Linked DNA regions of Homo sapiens: all the other regions are linked to region 2. The links are contacts of gene promoters, found by promoter capture Hi-C in blood cells and fetal thymus (Javierre and others, 2016). All regions are on one chromosome and are shown on one strand. The core of a region is centred on a gene start or on the middle of the fragment in contact, and the rest is flanking DNA. Distances in the headings are between cores, read along the strand shown.

Region 1 (4,206 bases), core at 978-3,477, 650 kb after region 2:
CCACAAAATGGGAGAAAATATTTGCAAATCATGTATCTGATAAAGGTCTACTGTCCAGAATATGTGAACAACTCTTACTACTTAACAACAAAAAAATAAACAACCCATAACGAGCAAAGGACTTGAAGAGCTATTTCTTCAAAGAAGTTTAAAAATGGCCATGAAGCACATAAAGAGATGCTCAATGTCATTAGGGAATTGCAAATCAAAACCACAAGGAGATACCACTTCAAACCCACTAGAATGACTATACTCAAACAAATAGACAATAAGAAGTGTTGACGAGAACACTCATACATTGCTGGTGAGAATGTAAAATGGTGCCACCACTTGGAAAACAGTTTGGCAGTTTCTCGATAAGTTAAACATAGAATTACCATGGGATGCAGGTATATATCCCAAATGATTGAAAACAGGTGTTCAAAGAAAAACTTGCTCACAAATGTTCATAGTAGCATTATTCACGATAACCAAAAAGTAGAAATAACTAATGTCCATCAGCTGATGAATGATAAGCAAAATGTTGTATATCCATACAACAAAATACTACTCAGCTGTAAAAAGAAATGAGGTACTCATACATGCAACAACATGGATGAACCTTGAAAACATGATGCTAAGGGGAAAAAGCCAGACACAAATGGCCACATATTGTATGATTCCATGTATATGAAATATCTAAAATAGGCAAAATCCATAGAAACAGAAAGCACATTCATGCTTATCAGGCACTGGGGAAATTGGGAATTACTGCTTATTGGAAATACGGTTTCCTTTTTGGGTAATGAAAATATTCTGGAACTGTATAGTGGTGATGGGTGCAAAACTTTGTGGATGAACTAAATACCACTGAATTGTACACTTTAAAATGGTTAAAATGGTAAATTTTATGTTATATATATTTTACCAGAATAAAAATAAAGACATACAGAAAAGTTAGAAGAATAGTTCAAAGAATTTTTATATATACCCTTCATCTACATTCCCTAAATGTTAGTATTTTAATGCATTTGCTTTTTCTCCTCATTTCCACTCCTCTATCCTTCTTCCCTTCTCCTTCCCCTTCCCCTGCTTCCCTTTTCCTACCTCTCCCTCCCTCTCTCTTGCTCTGTCTCCATTTCTCTCTGTCTCCATCTCTCTTGGTCTCTCTCTGTGTATGTGTGTGTGTGTGTGTGTGTGTGTGTGTGCGTGTGCATTTTACAGACCTTCTTTAAATTTTAACAGTTGTCCCACTAATGTTCTTTATGGAAAAAAGCTTTTTTTTTTTCTGGTCAACAATCCAATCTAGGATCACACATTGCATTTCATTTTCATGTCTCTTTAATCTCTTTTAACTTGGAGCAATTGCACAGTCTTTTGTTGTCATTCATGACCTTGATGTATTTGAAGAGTCAGGCCATTTATTTTCTAGAATGACCTTCAATTTCGGTTTGTCTAAAGCTTCCTCATGATTAGATCCAAGGTATGCCTTTTTGGCAGGAATACCACAGAAGGCATAACTGTGTCCTTCTCAGTGCATCATATCAGGAGGCACATGATCTCGTTTGTCCCATTACTGTGTGCTAACTTTGATCATTTGGCTAAGGTGGATCTTCCTGGTCTCTCCAATGTAAATGTACTGTTTCTCCCTTTGTAATTAATAAGTATCTTGTGGAGACATATTTTGAGACTATGTAAAAGTCCTATTTCTCATCAACTTTTCACATTATCTATTCACATTCTTCTCTGAAACAGCTATTACTGGTGTTTTCATATAATGATGATTTTCTAATTTCATCATTCTTCCTATATTTATTAGCTGGTGTTCTACTGTAAGGAAAATCTCTTCTCACCCACTTAGTTTTTCATCAAATAAATATTTATTCATCAAATAATATATATGTTAAATAACGTTTTAATTAGTCATCAAATACATATTTATTTGTTGAATAAATATTGATTATTCATCAAATAAATAAATATCAAATCCCAGATTGTTACTTTTTTCTGTTATCCTCATTTATTTTTATGCCCACATTGTCTCAGATTTAGCCAATGGGAGCCCATTCAAGCTGGCTCCTGTACTTTTGATCTGTCCCCATCATTCTTTGAGTACTTCCTTATTCACTGACGCAACCAGATGTTCCAAGCTCATCTTATGCTTTCCTGGTTTCAACTCTGTAATCAGCCAAGTCTTCAAGTGAGCCCTAGTTCCTTTTAATGGAAACTGGTATTTGGAAACCAAGGTCTGGGCACAATATGTGCTTTTGTGGTAGCTATTTGATAATAGCGACCACATGATATACAGCAGGAGAAAGGAAATGACTGCATTACTTTTTTTTTTTGAGATGGAGTCTCACTCTGTCACCCAGGCTGGAGTGCAGTGGCGCCATCTCAGCTCACTGCAACCTCCGCCCCCTGGGTTCTAGCGATTCTCCTGCCTCAGCCTCCCGAGTAGCTAGGATTACAGACACCTGCCACCACGCCCGGCTAATTTTTTTGTATTTTTAGTAGAGACCGGTTTTCACCATGTTGGCCAGGCTGATCTCGAACTCCTGCCTCAGATGATCCACCCGCCTCGGCCTCCCAAAGTTCTAGGATTACAGGCATGAGTCACCACGCCCTGCCTACTCTGCATTACTTTTTATAGGTCAATCCACACCTGGAATATAAATGAATGAGAGTGTTTTCAGAGACAAGCCTAGAGAAGATATCTACTGGGAAAAGAGACATCTTGGGGTAGAGAAAGGGAAAAGCAATGATTACTATATTCAAATATCTAAAGGGATGTTGTAGAAAAAATGGTGTCTATAGTCATGTCCTGAGCCCCTAAAGGGTTCTAATGGTTGGAAAAAGAGACTTCTGTTTCATCAGTCAATTAACATATGTTAATCACCTATTACTATCAGGCTGTGGCAGTGAGTGCTGATTGCCCTGCTATTGCTCTTCTGCCCATCTTTTTCATGAATATAACCCAGATATCATTCTGGTTAGCAAAATGCCTTACTAAAATACTCACCTTTCCATACTTCCCTGAAGCTTGAAGTGGTCGTATGACATAGTTCTGCCCAATGAGATATAAGCTGAAGAATACTGGCAATTTCCAAGAAAATTTCGCCTTCCCAATATAGGTGCCGCCCATCTTCCTGGTTTTCCCCTTCTCTGGCCTGTCTGGAATGCAGATGTGATCCTACTTGAAAGAACAAAAGACATATTACAAACACCAACAGAACCACAGACCAAAGATGGCAGAACCAAAAGATAGAAGGAGCCTGGTTCCCAGAAAGCATTCTTGCCTGATTTCTCCACAGTTGGGCTTGATGTCTTCTGGGCTTACTGTTACATGAGAAGAATGAATCCCTTTCTTGTTTAAGCCACTATAATAGGTTTCTGTTAAATGCAGCTGAGATGCAGTCCTAATCCAGGCACTATGCTAAGTCCTAGGAGGGGAAAGGCCACCTAGTGGAGTCACTGGCTTTTCCTGCCTATCAGACAGAATGTGAGGAAGACTTCCTAAAAACTGGAACACTACCAAGATGGACTTAACCCCAGGAGAAGACGTGATCCCCCTGACTACGAAGGAATGTGTGTAGAGGCTGGGTGGTACTTTTGCAGCTGGGATGTTGTAAAGCAGTATTGAGCACAGAGTGAAAGGCTAATTCAATGACCTTTAAAGTCTATTCCAGTGCAAACATTTTTCTAAGAGTCAGAAAGTTAAAAAAAAAAATAGATGGACTCAGGGCATGCTAAGCTTTCGCTGGACAGTTAGTGTTTGGTTTTTTTTTTTTTTGTATTTTTGTTTTTTTGAGACAGAGTCTTGCTCTGTCGCCCAGGCTGGAGTGCAGTGGCACGATCTTGGCTCACTGCAACCTCTGCCTCCCGGGTTCGAGCAATTTTCCTGCCTCAGCCTCCCAAGTAGCTGGGATTACAGGCACGCCCACCATGCCTGGCTAATTTTTTGTAGTAGAGATGGGGTTTCACTGTGTTAGCCAGGATGGTCTCTATCTCCTGATCTCGTGATCCGCCCGCCTCGGCCTCCCAAAGTGCTGGGATTATAGGCGTGAGCCACCACGCCCAGCCGACAGTTAGTGTTTTTTAGCTGTAGTCTGCATTTGGATCGATGATTTTCATTAAAGTTCCTAAGAATGCATGCTCCCTCAGCACCCCCTGGGTAAACATGTTATAGCAATTTTAAGTTTCTAATGAAATTTTTGTTGTAATTTATTT
Region 2 (4,174 bases), core at 86-2,585:
GGAGGATATTGAATGTTCTCAACACAAATGATAAGCCCCCGGGGGAGTGGCTTCTGTGAGACCTAAATCCTCATCTGCCACAGAAGGAAGGCAACACATACTCTCCATAACTGAAAATGCAAGAAATAGCAGAAAATGACTATTATTTAAAAATACGGGCCAGGCGCAGTGGCTCGTGCCTGTAATCCCAGCACTTAGGGAGGCTGAGCCGAGAGGATCACCTGAGGTCAGGAGTTCAAGACCAGCCTGCCCAACATGGTGAAACGCCGTCTCTACTAAAAATAGAAAAATTAGCCAGGTGTCGTGGCGTGCGCCTGTAATTCCAGCTACTCAGGAGGCTGAGGCAGGAGAATCTCTTGAAACCGGGAGGCGGAGGTTGCAGTGAGCCAAGATCATGCCACTGCACCCCAGCCTGAGCGACAGAGCAAGACTCTGTCTCAAAAAAATAAAAAACATACGGAAACAGGTATTAGAAGAACAGCTTAAAATGTTGAAGGTGGTTAGTCTGGGGACCAGTACTCTGGGACTGGGAGGACTAGACCAGAGGTCGGCTGTTTTGCTCTTAAGGCTTACAGAACGATCTAGTTTCAAACTATCTATGTTTAACTTCGACTTTTTCCTATCAGGCTCGGTGCTGCTATTCCACTGAGCTCATGGAAAATTAAATCTTTATTAGGAGCCTTCCAAGATCACAGTGGGGTGGCAATGGGGACAGATAATGCAGAAAAGCGAAGGCTCACTGGTCTACAAATACACGTCTATCACAACCTGTAAAAGTTAACCCTGTCCCAGCCTGGCCAATATGGTGAAACTCCGTCTCTACTAAAAAATACAAAAATTAGCGGGGCGTGGTGGCGGGCGCCTGTAGTCCCAGCTACTGGGGAGGCTGAAGCAGGAGAATGGCGTGAACCCGGGAGGCGGAGCTTGCAGTGAGGCGACATCGCGCCAGTGCACTCCAGCCTGGGCGACAGAGCAAGACTACGTCTCAAACAAAGAAACAAGTTAACCCTGTCAACATCTCGACTTTAAATGCAAAGCACTGCACATGCACACGCTGAACACCTCCCCTTCCTTCTCCAGGGGCAACACAAGCACAACCGCCGCACATTTACGAATCTACACAACTGCGCATCGGAGCGAATGAGGTCAGGGCCCAGAAAGGTGGGGCAGGAACGATCCCAGCCTTCAGCTAATTCTGTCACCTCTAACGTCTGGGGCAAGAACGTTTCAGGAAACCAAGGGGGACCGAGGCTCAGCGCCGAAGAGAAAGACGCCAACTGCGGGACCTGTCGCGCCTCCCGCGCCGGGGTGGAGCTGACCCCGCCGAGTCCCGCCCCTGCCTGAGTTCGCCAGTGGTCCAGGAGCCGCTTTTTTCCACTCGGGAAGACTTCAGAGAAGTCTCACAAAGGACTCGGCTGGCTGCTTTTCTCAGTGCCGAAGCCGCGCCATGCTCGTTCTCAGAAGCGGCCTGACCAAGGCGCTTGCCTCACGGACGCTCGCGCCTCAGGTACTGGCCGCGGGGGCGCGCCCGAGCCCTGGCCGGAGGGGAGGGGAGGGGCGGGGGGTATTTCTGAAGCGTGCGAGCCACGCTCAGGCGCTCCCAGACCTGGGGCCCCGCGCCGCCGCCGAAGTTCTAACGCGGTCTCTGGAGCCGTCTGGCGCGCAAGGAGGAGGCTACAGGCCGGGGTCGTCTCGCTGGCAGTCGCTGTCAGAGGGGTTTTCTAACTGGATGCCAGTGTTTTTGTGATTTTTGTTTTTGTTTTTGAGACGGAGTCTCGCTCTGTCGCCCAGGCTGGAGTGCAGTGGCGTAGTCTCGGCTCAGTGCAACCTCCGCCTCCCGGGTTCAAGCGATTCTCCTGCCTCATCCTCCGGAGTAGGTGGAATTACAGGCGCCAGCCACCACGCCCGGCTAATTTTTTTTGTGTTTACTATTTAGTAGAGTCGGGGGTTTCACCATGTTGGTCAGGCTGGTCTCGAACTCCTGACCTCGTGATCCGCCCACCTTGGCCTCCCAAAGTGCTGGATTGCAGGCATGAGCCACTGTGCCCAGCCTGATGCCAGCTGTTTCTAGCCTAAATGCCACAACTCCCGGGACACCCCCGTGGCGCCAGCTGTTGCGTTTTTTTAGGATAACATCTCCAGATACAAATCTCCGAAAATCAACTTTAAAAGCAGTTATTAGAAATACCTCATTGGCCCATTTTCCGAGATAATAATATTTTTAAACTGTAGATACTAAGCAGTTTTTTATTTTCAGAATTTGATTAAACTGACCCAAAAAGAATGGCCATCAAAAGAAAGGATAGTTGCAGGTATTTTTTGGTATGAAGAAGGGTTTTCTAAGAAAACTAAGACACTTGGGCAATAAGGGCATAACTCATACTGGAGATGAATGAACTCAAGATAGACAATTATAATTAAGACGTTATGCACACAAACTACATAGACATTTGCATGTTGTAACCAAAAATATGTCAGTGAAAGATGCCTACTGAAACTGTTGCGATAGATTATTCTGGGTAGTGAGCCTCAGGAAATTGTCACATGCTAACCATGCCTAAATGAATGGATTTGTAAACTAGAATGCCACGGGAGTGGTCTGTGTATACACGTGTGTTTACATAAATATTTGCATGTACGTACATACAGACAGACTGGATAATTTCTGACAGGGCATTTGCTACTGAACATTAAGCTCACTCAGGCTCAGAGGGCCAGATTAGGACAGAAAATTTACCCATTGGGCATATGACTATTACAAAGGGTGGTTCTTAAAGGATAGTTCCATAAACTTGGTATAATTGAGTGCACTAAATGTACATACTTCTTGATATTGCATCTGTAATTAGAAACAATGATGGAGACAATTCTCATTTGTTGAGTTTTTTTCCTTTTCAGCCTTTATGCAGTATACACCCATAGTACAATGCAATTGGATAAGTTATAGCTTCCTTTTATATTAGTTACATTCCAGTCCTGTTTTTGACCGGTAGTCTTCATCAGTAGATTCAGGAAATACTTTGACCTGAATAGCCCTTCCTGTTTTTTTAGGAACCTTTTAAAAACAAGAGTTTTTTGTTAGTAAACGTATTTTTGGGCCTGCCAAAAGGCATGTGTACTTAATAAATTTTTTTCAATGTGTGGAACTAATACATATGGTATTGAGTAAGATGGAATATTGGCTAAACAGGGGAAAACCCTTTGTAAATTAAAGAGACTAAGTCTTAAATGTAGTTCTTCGGTAAAGGAGTATCATTATGATCCCACAGCCTTCTTGTGAGCAAATTCTCGTGAAAAAATGGCTAGAGGTAGACCCCTGCTAGGAAACAGTTGCTATATATTCATCAGAATTAAGAGTAGTTATCTTTATTGACATCTCTATGTAAACAAGTGTATATGGAGAATTGACAACAAAAGTAAACAATGGATAATGAGTCTATGTGTGTTCCTTGTACCAGACTCAGATTTGGTTGTAACCAAATCTGTAATTGTACCTTCCCAAGATATTTACATTTGTCTTACCTCCTTCAGGTGTGTTCATCTTTTGCTACGGGCCCTAGACAATACGATGGAACGTTCTATGAATTTCGTACTTATTACCTTAAACCTTCAAATATGAATGCGTTCATGGAAAATCTTAAGAAAAACATTCATCTTCGGACCTCTTACTCTGAATTGGTTGGATTCTGGAGTGTAGAATTTGGAGGCAGAACGAATAAAGTGTTTCATATTTGGAAGTATGGTAAAGAGTCATCCAGTTTTAGTATTCAGTATAGATTTTCATTCTGTTAAATGTAACATAAGACTTAGTTCTTGGATCTATATTACCATAGATACATACAGGTTAAGTAAGACTTTTTAAAAGCAATACCAAAAAAATAAATTTAGCAGATCTTCTTCCCAGTGGTACACCTCTAACCACCCCTTGCTTGAACTCTTATGTTATCATAAATGAGAAAACATGCAGTCTCATATATCAAACCATAAAATTGTGAATTAGACTTTAATCCTCAGAAAAATGTTAGAATCGTTTGCTATAAAGATAGCTCATGAAAAATTTAAAGCAGTAATTGTAAATGTTCAAGTGGGTTAAGATCACCGTTGGGCCTGCCAAAAGACATGTATATTTAATAAAAATGTTTTAAATGTGTAACTAATGTATATGGTATTGACG
Region 3 (4,087 bases), core at 674-3,173, 790 kb after region 2:
TTTAAAAACAGCCACATTCTGTTAACATTCTTAGCAAAATTAACAGTAATTCTGTACTATTATCTAATGGATCAGTCCATACTAAAATTTCAGTTGTCTCAGAAGTATCTTTTTACAGTTATCTTGTTCAAATCAAGATCTAGACAGGGTCCACACATTGTACTCCGTTACATCTCTTAAATATTTGATTTTACAATAGTTCCCTCTGCTTTTAAATGCCATTTATGAAAAAAACTGAGGAATTTGTCTGGTAGAATGTCCCGTTTTCTGAATTTAGTTGCTTCTCTATATCCTGTATTAGATCTAGAGTTTGAGTAAATGCAGGTTCAATTTTTAGGCAAGAATCCTTCACAGGTGTGGCTGTGTACTTTCTATCACATCAGGAAGTACATAATATATGCTTGTCCCAAATTTAGTGAGATTAAGATCAGTGGGTTTAGGTGATGCCAGTCTATTATAAAGTTCCCCATCAACCTTTCACCTTAATTTTATCATCTATTGATGTTGCCCTTTCGATTATTTTATTAGGAGTTACAAAATCGTGATTGTTTTATCATCCTCCATTTATTAGCTGGAACTCTTATAAGTACTTTGGTTACACTAAAATTCAATTCATACAAGAAAGGCAGGATAAATGCTTGATGTTTTCCCTTATCAAGTTTTAGAATATTTAATCTTCAACTTGGCAATCTTCAATCACGACTGAATTTTATTTTTTAAGGAGTCATTATAAACTCAAGAATTTTTATATTTGATGTGTTTCAATCAATAGCAAGTATGTGATGCTCAAGTTTTCCCATGTCCCATCACGTTAGCACCTGTGTTAATGATGCCATTAAGCTTTGATAACTTACTTCCTCTTGGTGTAACCTTCCACTTTTTTTTATTAACCTACTGAGTACCTACCCGTTCTGAGTGCATTGGATGAGAGGACTTCAACAGTAAGCTTGTATGTGCATAGGAAATTTCTGGAAGGAAAAACAAAAAGTTGGTAAATGTCATAACCTGTAGGAAGTGAGGAAGATTTTTTCTTCCTTTTCTTTCTGTACTGATAGAATTAAAAACAAAGCTTAGAAAACAAATATATGATGGGAGTATTTTCCGTTTTGTAGAAATAAATTATAATTACAGTAACTGGTTTAGTGAATTATGGTTTTCAAAAATTTATAAGAAGATTAATATCTGAGCCTTAACAACCACCTTTTGGATTACACCGTTAAAAGAACCAAAGTGAGAGGATCGCTTGAGGCCAAGAGTTCGAGACCAGCCTGGGCAAGATGGTGAGGACGCCCTCCCCCCCACCCCCGCCACACCCCGCCCTGCTAGCCCCCAACGTCTCTACAAAAAAAGAAAAGAAAAAAGTTAATCAGGTACAAAATTGTATCCAGCCTTAAACTGGAGGGCAACAGGTCGCTAAATCTTGAATGTCATAAAGGCACCTCAACTTCATGAGGAATAGTGAACGCAGCTGCTATTTTCCACTCTATCCCCTAGCTCTACTAATTGTATCCAAACCAAACTTCAGGGAGTTATGCTGAATCCCTCTAGCAAAGCACACGCACTAAAAAAACCACTCGTTTATCAGAAGTTCACATTTAACGGGCTTGGAAAACGGCTCAGCTGCTGCCTCCAGTTCATCTTCCGCTGTCGAAAGCGTTTCAGAACTTAAACTCTCAGATTGCCTCAGTGCGCTGCTGTAGTTGTCAATTAGGCAAGAGATAAAAAAGGGCTTTGGCTAAGTGGCTAGATTATAAAAGCGAGGAATCGCCAGGGCTCAGTGAACTTCTGGCGGTGAGGATGCGACAAGAGTCACAGGAAAGCCGAGGCTGGGGCTGGACCGTGGGAACGTCCCAGCAGGAACCAAGCCAGCCTCCGCCGCTCAGCACTTGACGGCGGCTTTTGCGGCGGTTGCTGTGAGTGCCGTAAAGCGGAGCGGCTGCAGCCTGCTGTTGAGTGAGGTAAGGTACGGGAGGCTCAGGTCGGTACCCGGGGATGGGTGGGCGCCTTCAGACAGGTACCGCTGGCGACTCGGGTGCCCTTACCGGGCATCCTCCAGCATTCTGGGCACCTGCCTACCCCTTGGTGAGGAGGCCGGCCACAGGCTGAGCGCGCTCCGGGCTGGGTACTCCTCAGTCAGTCCACGAGCATCGCGTGGTAGACTTCCACTTGGCCAGTCCTTCCCGCACTTCTGGGCGTGTCATCAGGTGAAATCTTAATCCTGGGACAGATGAAAGGTTGGAGGACGATCGAGACTCTTGTAGTAGCCGGGTTAGGGTAGTGACCCCTGACCTCAGGTTATCCGCCCGCGTTGGCCTCTCAAAGTGCTGAGATTACAGCCGTGAGCCACCGCGCCCGGCCTGAAATTTACAATTTCTCATTTAACATGAGGTAAGCCACATTTCTCTTGGCTTCAGTTTTGTCAGATGTGGAAAAAAAAAAAAAAGGACCTAGATGATATATCAGATTCTTTATGCTTTTGAAGATAGCACGTTTCCAGTCGGTAAAAATCAAGCTGTGAACAAATGACAAAGTGAATGATAGAGCAGTATATTAGAAATTGGGCAGATGGAAGCCCAGTAGAAAAGGCTGTGTTTGAGCTAGACTCTGAGGATAAATAGGGTTTGAACGATTGGAAACCATCTCTGTTGGGCCATGGACAAAGATATCAAATGCAGGAATAAGCATTTATATTTTAGCGATTCTATTTGTGGACATAAGTTTAGTGAGGGTAGAGGATTTGGGAAGGCTGGCATTGAACGGTGAAAGAACTCTTAGTGGAAAGGAAGTGCAGGGTGTTCTGACAAGGAAGAAGAAAGGAACCGGGGAAATGCCGAAAGAACAATACGCAGGACTTGATTTCTTGGATCTGGGTGATGATATTTTTAACCTGCGTTTCTAAAAAGTAAGTTTAAGTGCTGTTGGCAAAAATGGGAATTCTGTTGAATTCCAGCATGCAATAGTGTACTGGGAATAAAGTGATTTAGATCGTAGAGTGCTGAGGTTGCCAATAACTAGCCTCTTGGCTGTCATTTAATTCTTCTAGAGCCTATTCTCCATAAGGTGATGTTGGGCCAGCTGATCTCTCTTCTCTAAAGCCTGTAAAACTAGAGACTGTGAGGATGGAGAGCTAGTTACTTTCTTCTGGACTGGGAGAGGACGATAGTTGACAGAGAATAAAATTGTTAATTTTGGGGCTGGACGCGGTGGCTCACGCCTGTAATCCCAGCACTTTGGGAGGCTGAGGCGGGTGGATCACCTGAGGCCAAGGAGTTCGAAACCAGCCTGGCCAACATGGTGAAACCCTATCTCTACTAAAAATACAACAAATTAGCCGGGTGTGGTGGCGGGCGCCTGTAATCCCAGCTACTCCTGAGGCTGAGGCAGGAGAATCGCTTGAACTTGGGAGGCAGAGGTTGCAGTGAGCCAAGATCAGGCCACTGCACTCCGGCCTGGGCAACAAGAGCGAAACTCTGTCTCAAAAAAAAAAAAAAGTTAATTTTGAACATGTTAAATTTGAGGTGAGGTGCAGGAAATAGAGTTGAAAATATAGGCAGATAGAGTGCATGGACTGTAATTTAAATAGTGTTTTCTCTCACAGGTGGTAGTTAAAATCTTGAGAATGGATTTGGTTTCAGGGAGAGATTGTAGAGAGAGTAACTATAGGCCATACCCACAGAGAGGAGGTTGGAGAAATTATTGAAGGAGGCATGTGGATCTCAGAGCTAAGAGCAAGGAAGGAGTTCTTTTTAAAAAAGTTACATATAGTTGTAGATTCTCAGGGGCCCAGTGTTGTTATTAAGCTAATTTAACAGCATTTACAGCAAATAATAAGCACCTACTTCTGGGAATTCTGGCAGAAAATAAATAATTCAAATAGATATAATCTCCACTGCCTAATTGTCTACCCAGAAGTGGTATCATTTACATATTTATTTATTCAACAAATATTTATATGTTTCAAGCACTGCTGGTTCTAGGGATATAACGACGAGCAAGGTAGACATTGTTCTTATCCTCCCTGCATGTAAAGCCCTTAGCATCTACATCAGTGCTTTTCAAATTTTAATGTACATATGAATCATCTGAG
Region 4 (4,422 bases), core at 332-2,831, 670 kb after region 2:
CTGGAAAGGGAATTACTACATCAAGTGGTGAAGGCACTCTATGAATGTTGATACATATTGCCAAATTGCTCTCCAGAAAGGCTCTACCAATCCTTTGTACTAAAGTCTATGAATGTCACCATTTTCCACATCCGGCAGATACTCATATCATCATTCTTATCACCCTTAATAATAACGGCAAAAGATGACAGCCCTTTGTTATTTTAATTTGTATTTTTTAGTAATTTATTAGTCCTTTATGTTTCCTCTTCCGTAAATTCTGTATTCATGTCCTTTGCCATTTTGTTATTGAGATGTCACCATTTTTCCTACTGTTGAATAAAAGATTTTTATGTATTAGGGATACTAGTACTTTTTCGGTCATATTAGTAGCAAATCTTTTTCCTTCTTTGTAGTTTGTCTTTTAATTTTGCTGGTGATAATTTTACCTATAATCTATACGATGTAAATTTTTGATAATTTCCTTAAGCCCCCAAATCAGTAAATTTATTGATAATTCCCTTACGCCCCCAAATCAGTTAAATAGTTACCTATATTTTCTATTTTTAAAAAATTATTTTCTTTTATAAATTAAGATACAATTTATATTCTATTTTTAATGGTTTCCTTTCACTTTTTATACTTATTAATAGCTAGAAATAATTTTGTGATATAATATGGAGTCAGGCCCATTTGTTATGCAATTTATTCCTTCCCCCATCAACTTGTGTGGATATTTTGTCACATGGAGTAGATCTATGATATTCTAAGAAGTATAGTTGTTCAGAGTTTAGACTCTGTGATCAACCACATCTGGGTTCAGATCCTAGCTCTGCCATCTTTTTGGTCCTGGGCAAGTTACTTAGCCCATCTAATTCTCAGTTTCCCCATCTGTAAAAGACTGATTGTTGGGAGGATTCCATTATCCTGAGTATGCAGAACAGTCAGCATGGGCTGTGCTACCTAGGAAACATTTAGTACAGTATGCATTCACTACTAGAATTATGACTATGATATCGATGAAGTTATTCATAACTTTTTTTTTTGAGATGGAGTCTCGTTCCCATTGCGCAGGCTGGAGGGCAGTGGCGCAATCTCGGCGCCCTACAGCCTCCGCCTCCTGGGTTTAAGCGATTCTCCTGCCTCACCCTCTGGAGTTGTAGTAGCTGGGACTACAGGCACGCGCCACCACGCCCAGCTAATTTTTGTATTTTTAGTAGAGTCAGGGTTTCACCATGTTGGCCAGGATGGTCTCGATCTCCTGACCTCGTGATCCGCCTGCCTTAGCCTCCCAGAGTGCTGGGATTACAGGCATGAGCCACCACACCCGGCCGGTTATTCATAACTTTAATAAATTCGGATATTCTTGAATGGTGCAGGAATACTCACTTCAAACTTTTAATGAGTTACTGGGCATATGGTCAAAAAATAAAACAAAGCTGCATTCACATCTCCACAGTGGCTGTTTCCTTGTCTCACTCACAGGTAAGTGATACGCTTCCACATCCACAGGGCACACAATTCGTATCTTGCCTTAAAAGGAAGAACTGAAAGGATATAAAACCAGATTATCTCAAAGGTTAGAGTGATTTAGGAGTAGGGCTTTTCTGTATTACTTTAATCTTTTTGGTTTGTTTTCGTTTTTGTTTTGAGACGAGGTCTGGCTCTGTCATCCAGGCTGGAGTGCAGTGGCACGATCACAGCTCACCGCAACCTCCGCCTTCTTGGCTCAAGCCATCCTCCCACCTCAGCCTCCCGAGTAGCTGGGACTACAAGTATGTGCCACCGTGCCTGGCTAATTTTTGAATTTTCTGTAGAGACAAGGTTTTGCCATGTTGTGCAGGCTGCTCTCAAACTCCTGGGCTCAAGCTATCCTCCTGCGTTGACCTCTCAAAGTGCTGAGATTATAGGCATGCACCACAACACCTGGCCCTTCTGTATTACCTTAATTTTTGACAGTAATTATGCCTACTGAGGGGAAAACAATAAAGATGTACCCTTGGAAAAAGTGCTTACCTCAATGAAGTTACAGATTAATCATCATCCAAGATTTAGAATTTATTGCAAATAGTAAAAACATTAACACTTAAATCTTCAAATACGGAGAAGCCTTTTAGGAACCATTTCAAGGTATGCAGAAATTTGGTGTGATCTCAATTTTATTTAAATCTTCTTTCATATTTCTTTATGCATGTGTATACCTTAATTATAGGTTGTAAAATTACAAGTATATATATATATTTTGAGACAGGGTCTCATTTTGTTGCTCAGGCTGGAGTGCAGTGGCATGATTACAGCTCACCACAGCTTTGACCCTTCCAGGCTCCTCCTGCCTCAGTGATCCTCCTGCCTCAGCCCCCTGAGTAGCTGGGACTACAGGCATGTGCCGCCAATGCCCGGCGAATTTTTAAATTTTTTGTAGAGACATGGTCCCTCTATGTCTCCAGCTCCTTGGCTCAAGCAATCCTCTTCCCTTGGCTTCCCCGTGCCTGAATTACAGGCATGAGCCACCACGCCTGGCCTAATTATAGTTCTTATGATGTGGAGCTCAATCATCTATTACTAAATTATTTCATAGTTATTTTCTTTCTCTTTTTTAAAAAATTAAGATATCATTAACATATCATAACACTGACCATTTTAAAGTGTTTACTTCATGGTTTTTGGCAAATGCACAAAGCTGTGCAACTAAGACCACCACGTGACTCTAGAACATTTCATTGGCCCAAAGAGAAACTCCATGCCTTTTAGCATTCAGTGCCTATTCCCCTCACCCAGCCCCTGGAAACCACTATTCTACTTTATTTTGCTGTGGATTTGCCTATTTTGGATTCACGTGAAAGAAATTATACAATATGTAGAATTATTTTTGTCAGCTTTTCACTTAGCATGTTTTCAAGTTTCAATAATGTTGTAGCATATACCAATATTTCATCTCTTTTTATGGCTGAATAATGTTCTGATGTGTGATATATTATATTTCGTTCATTTATTCATCAGTTAATGGATACTTAGGTTGGATTTGCACCTTTTCGCTATTCTGAATAATGCTGCTATGAGCATTCGTACACAAGTTTTTGTGCGGACATACGTTTTCAATTTTTTTGGTTATATACATAGGAGTGGAATTCCTAGGTCATATGGTAATCCTGTATTTAACTTTTTGAGGAATGCCAAATTGATTTACACAGCAGCTGCCCCATTTTACATTCCCACCAGCAATGTATGAGGGTTCCAATTTTTCTACATCCTCGACAAGTGTAAGTTTCCATCTTTTTGATTATAGACATCCAGTGAGTGTGAAGTTGTATCTCAGTGTGGTTTTGTTTTGCATTTTCCTTATGACTAATGATGTTAAGCACCTTTTCATACATTCATATGATGAAGTCAAATTATCTGTCTTTTCCTTGGTTGCTTGTTCTTTTGCTATCATGACCCAGAAATCATTGTTTAATCCAAGGTCATACATATTTAGCCTTAAGTTTATCTTCTGAGAGTTGTATAGTTTTAGCTCATACATTTAGGTCATTGATCTATTTTGAATTAATTTTTTATATGTCATATATGGAGTATATGTAGGTGTATATGTATGATATATTTGTAGATGTCCAACTTTCTTCTTTTGCATGTGGATATCCAGTTGTCCCATTTGGACAACAACTATTTTTTTCCAAATGAATGGTCTTGATATCGTGTCAATGTCCAAATCAATTGGCCATAGATATGTAGGTTTATTTCTAGATTTGCAATTCTATTCCATTGGTCTATAGGTCTTAGTTGAGCTCTTGATAAACACTGGCATGAGATGAGTATATTTCATTCTCTAACAAGTGCCTGGAGTATAGCTGAACACTAACTGGCCCATGCTGCTTACCTGTCAGCTGACGTGAGTAAGAGATTGACAGCCTCCTCTGAGACATGAGGATCATAAAAAGGGCATGCGCCTGAAAATAGTTTGTACCTCTGATCAGCTCCAAGAGTCTCCATAGAGACAAAAAGACAAATAAGGTCCAAATTCCAGTCCATATAGCTTGGCTAAAATAATCTGAAGCCTAGTAATTTTTAGGCGGGTATAACTCATACACCCATCTCAGCACCCTCAAAATCACCTGATAAATATTTATGGAGTCCCTGTTCTGTGCTGTGTACAACAAAGCAGCTTTAATTTGAGGATTTTATTTCCTGGCATTCTTCCAACAAACTACTTGCAGCAAAGTTGCCAAAGACAGTAAGCTGATTGTATGAAGGTATCATTATTTATTTATTCATTGAGACAGGGTCTCACTCTGTTGCCCAGGCTTTAGTGCAGTGGCGCAATCTTGGCTCACTGCAACCTCTGCTTCCTGGGTTCAGCAATTCTTGTGCCTCAGCTTCCTGAGTAACTGGGATTACAGGCATGCGCCAGCACTCCTGGCTAATTTTTTTATTTTTAGTAGAGACGGA
Region 5 (4,480 bases), core at 12-2,511, 710 kb after region 2:
TAACTTCTTAAACCTCTCTTGCATTTATACAATATATATGCAGTAAAATTTGAACCTAAATGAAAGTGGAGCCATGGGAGTTTTCAGTTTTACTAGCTGGGTATATTCTATGTAAATGCATGGACAACAGTTTTTCCTAGATTATCTGGCTTTTCATTTATTCCTTTCCTGGTTTTTCACAAACAGCATGGTACATGAAGTGATACCATAAAAGCTTTGCATGCATGCATATGTGCACACACACACTAAAAATTTTTACCTTATTAAATTTAGTAACACTTGACACAAAATTGAATCATTGTGGTCAGTTTAAAAAACGGTAATCGTCTTCATATCATTGGGTTATGCAAGGGTGATTGGTAATATTTCTCTAAGTTTGAAACCAGTTAGGAAATAAGACAAAAAAAAACTGATAAGAGGCCAAATAATGATAAAAGCATATTGGAAAAGATGGCTTTTGTTATTGGGCAAGTTTCCCAATACTAAATACCTAGAATTAGACAGACAAATTCACCCAGGCATGATCAGCAGGGGCTGCCTCAGGTGATGGGCAGGGGGAGCCTCTTTCAGTGAAAGTTATGGTACAGAGGGAAAGAACAGAATATATGTTATCTGTGGGCAAGCAAGCTGTGAGAAAAAGCAGAAAGTCTAGTTTCTCCTTTCAAACCCATTATCAGATAAGTCATATCATTTTCCTAGGAGAAATAAGGGAATGGAGAGGCAAAGAGTAATCCTGGTAGTACTTGTTTCATATCAGGTACAGAGAAGAGTCCTTTCTTTCCTTCCTTTAACACTTACATTAAAATCTTTGTTTTGTAATTCCAGCTTTAATGATAGTAATTAAAAAATCAATTAAATTAACTTTTTAAACATTTTCTATCTCTGGTACTACAGTAGTTTCATGACTTAAGATACAGATTCCACAGAATTTGTTTGTTTGTGTAGCACGTGGGAATGATTTTCGGAAACATTAAGAAACAAAATTCCTTAGAAAAGAAATAGAATGATTAATATACAAGGTCTCAACTGATTAATAGTAATGCTGAGACTGTATAATATGCTGATCTCTTAAATCTCAGTTCTGTGTTGCCTGGGTGTGCTGGCTCATGCCTGTAATCCCAGCACTTTGGGAGGCTGAGGCAGGCGGATCACGAGGTCAGGAGATCAAGACTGTCTTGTCTAACATGGTGAAACCCCGTCTCTAATAAAAATACAAAAAAATTTGCCGGGCGTGGTGGCGGGTCCCTGTAGTCCCAGCTACTTGGGAGGCTGAGGCAGGAGAATGGCATGAACCCGGGAGGCAGAGCTTGCAGTGAGCCAAGATCGTGCCACTGCACTCCAGCCTGGGCGACAGAACAAGACTCTGTCTCAAAAAGAAAAAATCTGAGTTCTGTGTTTTTGAGTAGAAAGAGTCCTCAGACCAGAATGTTTTAGGGTGGATATAAAAATGACCAATAATGAATAGGAACAACGTTAGAACTGAAGAAGAGAGGCCACAGAAGCATTGCTACATATATCTAATTAACATTCAAATAAGTTTAATAATTATTAAGTATTACTATGTCCTAAGCATTTTTGCTAGGCACTGGGGATACAGTGTTGAGCAAAACAGCCTTGTCTATGTCTGATATATTGTTAACTGTACTGGTTACTGTGGAGAAAAAAACTTTTGTTGGATATATTGTATGTAAATATAAAAGGGACAACAGTTTTTACTTGTTTTTTATTATTTTGTGTGACCATGCAGCCCCAAGTAAATAGCTGAGTTCCCTTTCTAAACTTGTGCTTGCATAAAAAAAAAAGACAAAAGAGATACCTTATATATAGGTTTAAGTTGGTAGCATGTATGAAATCATCATGGAGAAAGACCCCATTGCTAGAAGTATTTCTCTGGTCTCTTTGTGTCTGAATTTCTGCCATTACAACTTTCTTTGGAGTAAAGGTTTATAGAATTGCAGCCTAGTTGTATTTGTTAGCAGGCAAACTCTGAGAATTCCTTGCCCTATAGAGGCATATAGAGAAAACTTGGAACAACGATTATGAAGTAGTGAAAGAGATCTCTGAAGAAAAATTAGAGAGTAAATTTGACATGTACAAGAAAACCATGAAGGAAGTTGTCCCATGAAGGAGATTGGTTGCTCTAGTTGATGAGTATCAGACTGAATGAAAGTGGAGGTGTGTTTTGATAATCTTAAGGTAAGAATAAAACATTTATAGTCACCTGGAATTTGTTCGAAGTGTTAAATTTTCCTCCTAAAAGGTGATTTTTGTGGGGTCTGGATTTTCTACTATAATTCTAACATCACATGAAAGCTTATGTGAACTATACACATAAATTTTCTATAGTTTGTGTTTTGGTGAATATGAACTAATCTGTTGCAGGGTTTATATCCTAACTTTTCTTGCATGTCACTGCCATTGAAACTTGCATGAAAAGCACTAACTTGCCTTCTTTCTCTTCTCCCTGATTGGCTCCAAGGCTGCCAGACAGATCAAGGATAGGTATGGTATAAAACACATTTTTACTTAAGTATAAATATTGAAGTCAGAAATGAAATTCAGAAATAGTTTTTTAATTAAAATTGTGTTAGTTAAGATAAAAGTACCCAATGACCAAGTACAAAATAAAATGTCCTCTGTGTATTTTCTTGGAATAACCATTGTATCAATAAAATTTTTTAAAAGCATAGTTGTGGATAATTATGTGCTTCAGAAGAATTTCATTTCTGGTGTAGAAATATAGTTAGTTTTAGTTTTAGAACAGTTCTTAATTAGTTGTACTAATGAAAAGGGAACTATTTTGAATAACTTAAAAATATATATTTCTGGAATGTGTTTTTTGTTGTTAAATTTAAATGTAAGTGGGTCTTATTTTCTTTGAACTCACTCATTTTAAGTAGTCCTCAAGAACTAAAGCGCTCCTATTTCACTGCCCTCCTGTTTAACACCTTGTATTCTCATTCCATCCTGTTCCTGGTGCCATCTCTTTCTATTTCTAATGCCACCACTATCTAGTTAATATTCTGTGGGAAGAGAAAATTAAAGAAAATTATTAAAGGTTTTGGTTTAAAAGTTCTTTCTTATTGGTAGAGCCAGGCTTAAGAAAAGGAATTTAGTACTTGTAATGAACATAGATTGCTAAAGGAGTTGCTGGCAACATTTGGATTGCATTAACACAGAAGGAACAGTTTGGATCTGCCTGTCTAGTCACTGAGTATTGTCTGTATTGAGATTATAGCAAGTTTTTTCATCTGAGGGTCATGAGATTCTCTGAAAGGCACAGCTCTTCAAAGTGCCACTCCAAATCCTAGATTAAATTATTCTTCATCAGATAATTCACAAAAATTTTCATTATAGATTATGTGAAAAACAGTGCCTCTATTGTTAATCTTGGCTGACAGTTTTACTTCTGGGTTTCTCTTTTTTTTTTTTTTTTGAGGCAGAGTCTTGCTCTAGCACCCAGGCTGGAGTGCAGTGGTGCGATCTTGTCACACTGCAACCTCTGCCTCATGGGCTCAAGTGATCCTCCACCTCATCCTCCTGAATAGGTGGGACTACAGGCATGTGCCACCACACCCAGCTAATTTTTGTATTTTTTGTAGAAACAGGGTCTTGCTATTTTGCCCAGGCTGGTCTGGAATGCCTAAGCTCAAGCTATCCGCCCAACTTGGCCTCCCAAAGTGCTGGGATTACAGGTGTGAGCCATTGTGCCTGGTCCTGTATTAATTTTTATATTTTTTGTATATTTTACATCAGGCAGTAGCTAAAGACATGGATCATTCTTATAAATCCTGGATCTAGAAAGATGATTGTGAAAGTTTGAAGGTGAAAAATATTAGCTGTGTGAGGAATGGATGCTAGATAGGTCAGTTTTGTGGATAAGGTAGATTTGGGTTGTGTCTGGAAATTGCTATGAGTCATCCATCTTCCTCCCTGGGTATATTATACTTACTGTTTAGCTACCTATCCCACTGCATCCTGCTCTAGTTCCTAATTTTCTGAATTAGAAGTTACTTCCTAATCATGACCTTGCAAAATCTGTCCTTTTTTCAAGATTCTATATGGCTCTTTGCATCACAGAATCTTGTCTGTATCCTTAAACTCTTTGTCTTTGCCCAGATTTGTTTATCAGAATTTAATTTCATGACCAATTTCAATGGCTGTATTCTTCACTGAAGCTTGGGTTTTTTGCGTCTTCTAAGCCAGCCTCTTGGCTTGATTTCATAAGTATCCAGGTGATCTCAGGAATTAGGGTTCAGGCAAACTCTGTGTGTGTGTGTGTGTGTGTGTGTGTGTGTGTGTGTGGTTCTTTTTTTTTTTTTTTTTTTTTGCTTGTTCAAACCCTATAGCATTTTTGTGATCCCCTGCAGAATTTTTACTTCCTGCCCGAGGAACATTTCTGATTCTCAACTTAATTTTTTTTTTTTTGAGACAGAGTCTTGCTCAGTTGCCCAGGCTGGAGTGCAGTGGTGCAATCTTG
Region 6 (4,130 bases), core at 652-3,151, 630 kb after region 2:
GCCCTCAGACGGCCAGCTTCCACCCCTGTACCCCCTCAGGGGCTAATGAACCCAAGTCAAAAGGCTGCTCTAAAGTTGTTCTGATAATGTGTTTTGAAATGAGGAAGTGATTAGGCCTCCACTAGAGATACTTTTGAGATGATGCTTACCACCTTCTGACCTGGAATCATTTTTATAACTTAAAGACTTTATGTAATTTAGTAGCAGGTTAGGGAATAGAAACCACACTAATCTGAAGGAATAACAAGATGATCAACACTGAATCTTCATGACAGTAAGATTTTCTTTCCTTGGAGGTATGAGGGTGTGTATGTGTGTGTGTGTGTGTGTGTGTTTGTGTGTGTGTGTGTGTGTCCTGGCGGTTATTTGGGGGCAAGGTACCAGATTATTTGCAGTGAGCCAAAAAAAAAAAAATATCCAAGAAGAAATAAATAGGGAATCCTTGTAATTAATCCATCTACCAAAACACTTGATTCTTTTTATTGTAGCTCAGCTATGACATTATGACATTATGTGGCTTAGTGTTATCAGTATACTACTGTCTTAAAATATATTTGTCAACATGTCCAGTTCCAACAACAGTTGAAGATGATGATAAATTAGCAAACTCAAGGGTAGTCCATAGTTGGCAAAAAATAAATTTGGTAGAAAGTTGGAGGAGCAGATGCTGAAGGTAGAAATGCAAAAGATGTTTTTTCTTCCTGCATAAATCACGGAGGTGTGTTCTGTTTTAGTGTTTTCCAGTCACCCACTAGAGCAGCTTCAGATTCCTCTGCCAATAGAACTCCACCCCCAGTCCCTTACCTACTCTATCTTCTTTAGGGAAGCATGTGGATTTCTTCACATCTGCACCTTACTATTAGGTAAGGGTGCTGCATCTACATGGAAGGCTCCCTGGGCCCTTGAAAAAGCAGGCAGAAACTCATCAAGGGGTTTGAAGTTCTTGTGAAATTTGATCCCAGTGGCTCATGACTTATAGTCAGGCATCAAACCATTTCCTACTTTTTCAGGCTGAAGAAAGTGGAAATATAACTGGCTGGTGAAGAAAGGAGAAAAGTCAGCCCCCTACCCCACCCCACACTCCTAGAAAAGTTTGGGGGTTTTTTTTGTTTGTTTTTGGTGTTTTTTTGAGACGGAGTCTCGCTCTATCGCCAGCTTAGAGTGCAGTGGCTCAATCTTAGCTCACTGCAACCTCCACCTCCCAGGTTCAAGTGATTCTCCTGCATCAGCCTCCTGAGTAGCTGGGACCACAGGCATGTGCCACCACACCCAGCTAATTTTTGTATTTTTAGTAGAGACGGGGTTTCACCACGTTGGCCAGGCCAATCTCGAACTCCTGACCTCAGGTGATCCACCCGCCTCAGCCTCCCAAAGTGCTGGGATTACAGGCATGAGCCACCGCGCCCGGCCTAGAAGAGTTTTAATGAACCTTCCACAGTAGTAAATGCAGAGACCACTGGTGGAAATTCCCATGTTGGATAGAAAAGGGCGTAAGTCCAGTCTAAGTATCTAAATGTGATATGCCCTTTTGTCACAGAAGTGTAAGACTTAAAGGGAATATTCTGACCTTCGTGTATGAATCTGATCCACCCATCCTGTCAGCTAGGATTATAATTTGAACTGTCGTTTCAGGAGCATGTGTTAAATCATATGAGTAAAAAAAAAGTAGACATTGAAAAGAAGACTTGGGAATAATTGGGCAGATAGAATGGGTTCCATGGATCATTCTAGTTGCCACTAGAAAATGTGAGCTCCTTCTTCATTTACCATGTTGATAATCCGGTGGTGACTTTTTTTTTTTTTTTGTAAATTGTATTAGATACCCCACAGGAATGTGACAATAATAGGATAGCTTTGGGGGCTGGTGATTTGAAACAGGGACTATTAAGTAGATTTTCCCCCATCCTCTAGGTTCCTGTAGTCTGTGCTCAGAACTTGGTTTTTGGCCCCTATTGTTTTTGCCTATTTTGATTTTCAGAGATGATCACATGGGGACAGTTAACTTTTCTTCTGCTGTGTTGCCTTAATGCTACTAGATTGTGTTGTGTTGTTGGAGTTTTCTGACTTCTTCCCTATAAAAAGATACTGAGAGCTCCATAATGAAAGAAGTTGTTATACTTTCTCAGAATATTCTGGACCACTGAATGCACTTCTAATAGAGCTTTAATCTAAAGAAGTTAGTTCAGTGGTTATTAACTGATTTTATTACAGGAGAAAAAAACTTTAACAAAAAGGCAGGGAGAAAAGTGTGAAGGGCATCAAGCAAAATGACAGGGGCTTCAAAAAACAACCAAAGACAAAACCCTATCTTCTGAAGACCAAAGGTCCAACTTTACTTACTGGCTGGCACAGCCTTTCTGAACTCCTTGAGTTTAGAATAGAGCTCCTAGAATAATAAGGCGGCCAAATTTAAAGATCAGTCAATACAGTAGGGACCTGCTATTGATCTCTCAGGCACTGAGTCTTCACATCCAGTGTCAAGCCCAGCCCAGCATATGGGGTGATATGAGCAGAAAACACACATCGGTGTGTCTTGATTTCTCGCAGCTGTGTAATGTGGCATGAGAAGTATGTTTTGGTGCCACATATTTCTCAATCTGATGCCTTTTTGTCTTTTTTTTTTTTTGCCATTTGCATCCTATTTCATAGTGCCAAAATGAATTTTTGTATCTTGTCTTGTCTTTGTCCATTATAAACTGGAGGATCACAGTTAAGCCTTCCATGAATTCATAGTTTGGAATCATTTACCTTACCATTATTTTGGATTTTTTTCTTATTACAGTGTCACTACACTGTATTCATGTGGGGGAACAAACATGTAGGTGCTTGAACATGCCCCACAGACACAGTTGTAGCCCTAGTATTTGTGACGGTCATTATTGACACAGTGCAGACTTTGCAGATGGAGCATTATGCTCTCAGAGGACTTTAAAAATATGTATATTAAGCAATTAACTTTCTGGAGTTGGAGTTATCAAATCTTGCTGGGAAATTAACTTCCAAGAGCTCTGAATTGGATGGAATTCCATCTGGCTTCAGAGAACAATCAGCCTATATGAAACGGAGCTTTGAAATGTTTTTCTTGTGCAGAAATACGAACTAGAAAGAAAAGTGCTGATCTAATGCTAAGTTTTCTCTGTGTACTGACTCAGTTGCCAGAATTATAATGAAAACTGTATTTTAGTCTAACAAATGTATAGAATTTTTTATGTAATAAATAAAATTTTATAGGAAAGAATGTTATTGTCTACTGTGTTGTAACACTTCCCCATGCCCAGGGTGGTGACTGATAAAATCATGGGCAACATCTTCGTTTCAAATTAGGTCAGTATGCTGCAAGGGTGCCCCAGAATTTCCCAGCTGTTCCTTTCTGTCTCTCGCAGCATGTTCTGGGGGCTTCGGAATAGCAACTATAAATGTACCTAAACCAATTTCTGAAGTACAAAGTTCATCCACTGCCAGGCCAGGCTTCATAGCTGGAGTCTGAGTTGCCGCGTGAATGCTAAGATTGCAACTGAACTCAATCATCAGGCAGAGTAGAAAAGCCTCCACTGGGCCGGGCGTGGTGGCTCACGCCTGTAATCCCAGCACTTTGGGAGGCCGAGGCGGACAGATCACAAGATGAGGAGATCGAGACCATCCTGGCTAACACGGTGAAACCCCGTCTCTACTAAAAAAAATACAAAAAAATAAGCCGGGCGTGGTGGCGGGCGCCTGTAGTCCCAGCTACTCGGGAGACTGAGGCAGGAGAATGGCCTGAACCCGGGAGGCGGAGCTTGCAGTGAGCCAAGATCGCATCACCGCACTCCAGCCTGGGGGTCATAGCGAGACTCGGTCTCAGAAAAAAAAAAAAAAGAAAAAAAGAAAAGAAAAGCCTCCGCTGGACAGTGTCCATCATGGAAGACATTCATTGTGCCTGGTTCAGTGCCCTGCACGTGAATTGGAGCCTGGATCTGTAATGAGTTTAGTGCGTTTGTGAAACTGTGTGGTGTGCCATCATTTAGGCAGTAGCTGTGCCCCATTTAAAGTTTAGAAAAATCAAGCTTTTTAAAAACCAATAATTTTAGGTAATGTTAGGGACGAAGGAAGGGATGTTCTTCTTAAGTGGAAGACCTTTTGGAATACCGTAA

The links. Contacts are between HindIII fragments. The CHiCAGO score rates a contact against its expected background, and 5 or more counts as called.
Region 1: a contact is called between a fragment that was not itself captured here and the fragment with the promoter of NIPSNAP3B in region 2, in 4 of 17 cell types (M2 macrophages, M0 macrophages, endothelial precursors and 1 more). The highest score is 8.0, in M2 macrophages.
Region 3: the fragment with the promoter of FKTN here is called in contact with the fragment with the promoter of NIPSNAP3B in region 2 in 1 of 17 cell types (total B cells); the score reaches 5.0 in total B cells.
Region 4: a contact is called between a fragment that was not itself captured here and the fragment with the promoter of NIPSNAP3B in region 2, in 1 of 17 cell types (M0 macrophages). The highest score is 6.1, in M0 macrophages.
Region 5: a contact is called between a fragment that was not itself captured here and the fragment with the promoter of NIPSNAP3B in region 2, in 1 of 17 cell types (monocytes). The highest score is 5.1, in monocytes.
Region 6: a fragment that was not itself captured here is called in contact with the fragment with the promoter of NIPSNAP3B in region 2 in 1 of 17 cell types (total B cells); the score reaches 7.6 in total B cells.

The regions. Positions count from the first base shown.
Region 1 is chr9:105,410,296-105,414,501 of GRCh38, forward strand. It overlaps a transcript of SLC44A1 not described here. Among named protein-coding and RNA genes, the nearest start is that of FSD1L, 36 kb to the right of the region's middle. The HindIII fragment of the contact is 1,578 bases long and covers 1,439-3,016 here.
Region 2 is chr9:104,762,794-104,766,967 of GRCh38, forward strand. NIPSNAP3B (nipsnap homolog 3B) reads left to right here and starts at 1,336. Exons shown (of 6, transcript NM_018376.4): 1 at 1,336-1,507; 2 at 3,532-3,742. The coding sequence starts at 1,448. RefSeq lists silencers at 1,065-1,264, 1,462-1,651. The HindIII fragment of the contact is 4,394 bases long and covers 1-4,174 here.
Region 3 is chr9:105,556,208-105,560,294 of GRCh38, forward strand. It overlaps FKTN (fukutin), which reads left to right and starts at 1,924. Exons shown (of 11, transcript NM_001079802.2): 1 at 1,924-1,958. FKTN-AS1 (FKTN antisense RNA 1) reads right to left here and starts at 2,099. Exons shown (of 3, transcript NR_184141.1): 1 at 1,563-2,099; 2 at 907-968. RefSeq lists enhancers at 1,785-1,834, 1,995-2,184. The HindIII fragment of the contact is 7,231 bases long and covers 1,068-4,087 here.
Region 4 is chr9:105,427,692-105,432,113 of GRCh38, forward strand. It overlaps a transcript of SLC44A1 not described here. Among named protein-coding and RNA genes, the nearest start is that of FSD1L, 18 kb to the right of the region's middle. The HindIII fragment of the contact is 6,517 bases long and covers 1-4,422 here.
Region 5 is chr9:105,476,875-105,481,354 of GRCh38, forward strand. It overlaps FSD1L (fibronectin type III and SPRY domain containing 1 like), which reads left to right. Exons shown (of 14, transcript NM_001145313.3): 6 at 2,480-2,502. Among named protein-coding and RNA genes, the nearest start is that of FSD1L, 31 kb to the left of the region's middle. The HindIII fragment of the contact is 2,099 bases long and covers 213-2,311 here.
Region 6 is chr9:105,394,109-105,398,238 of GRCh38, forward strand. SLC44A1 (solute carrier family 44 member 1) reads left to right here. Exons shown (of 16, transcript NM_080546.5): 16 at 1-3,238. Among named protein-coding and RNA genes, the nearest start is that of FSD1L, 52 kb to the right of the region's middle. The HindIII fragment of the contact is 4,279 bases long and covers 1-4,041 here.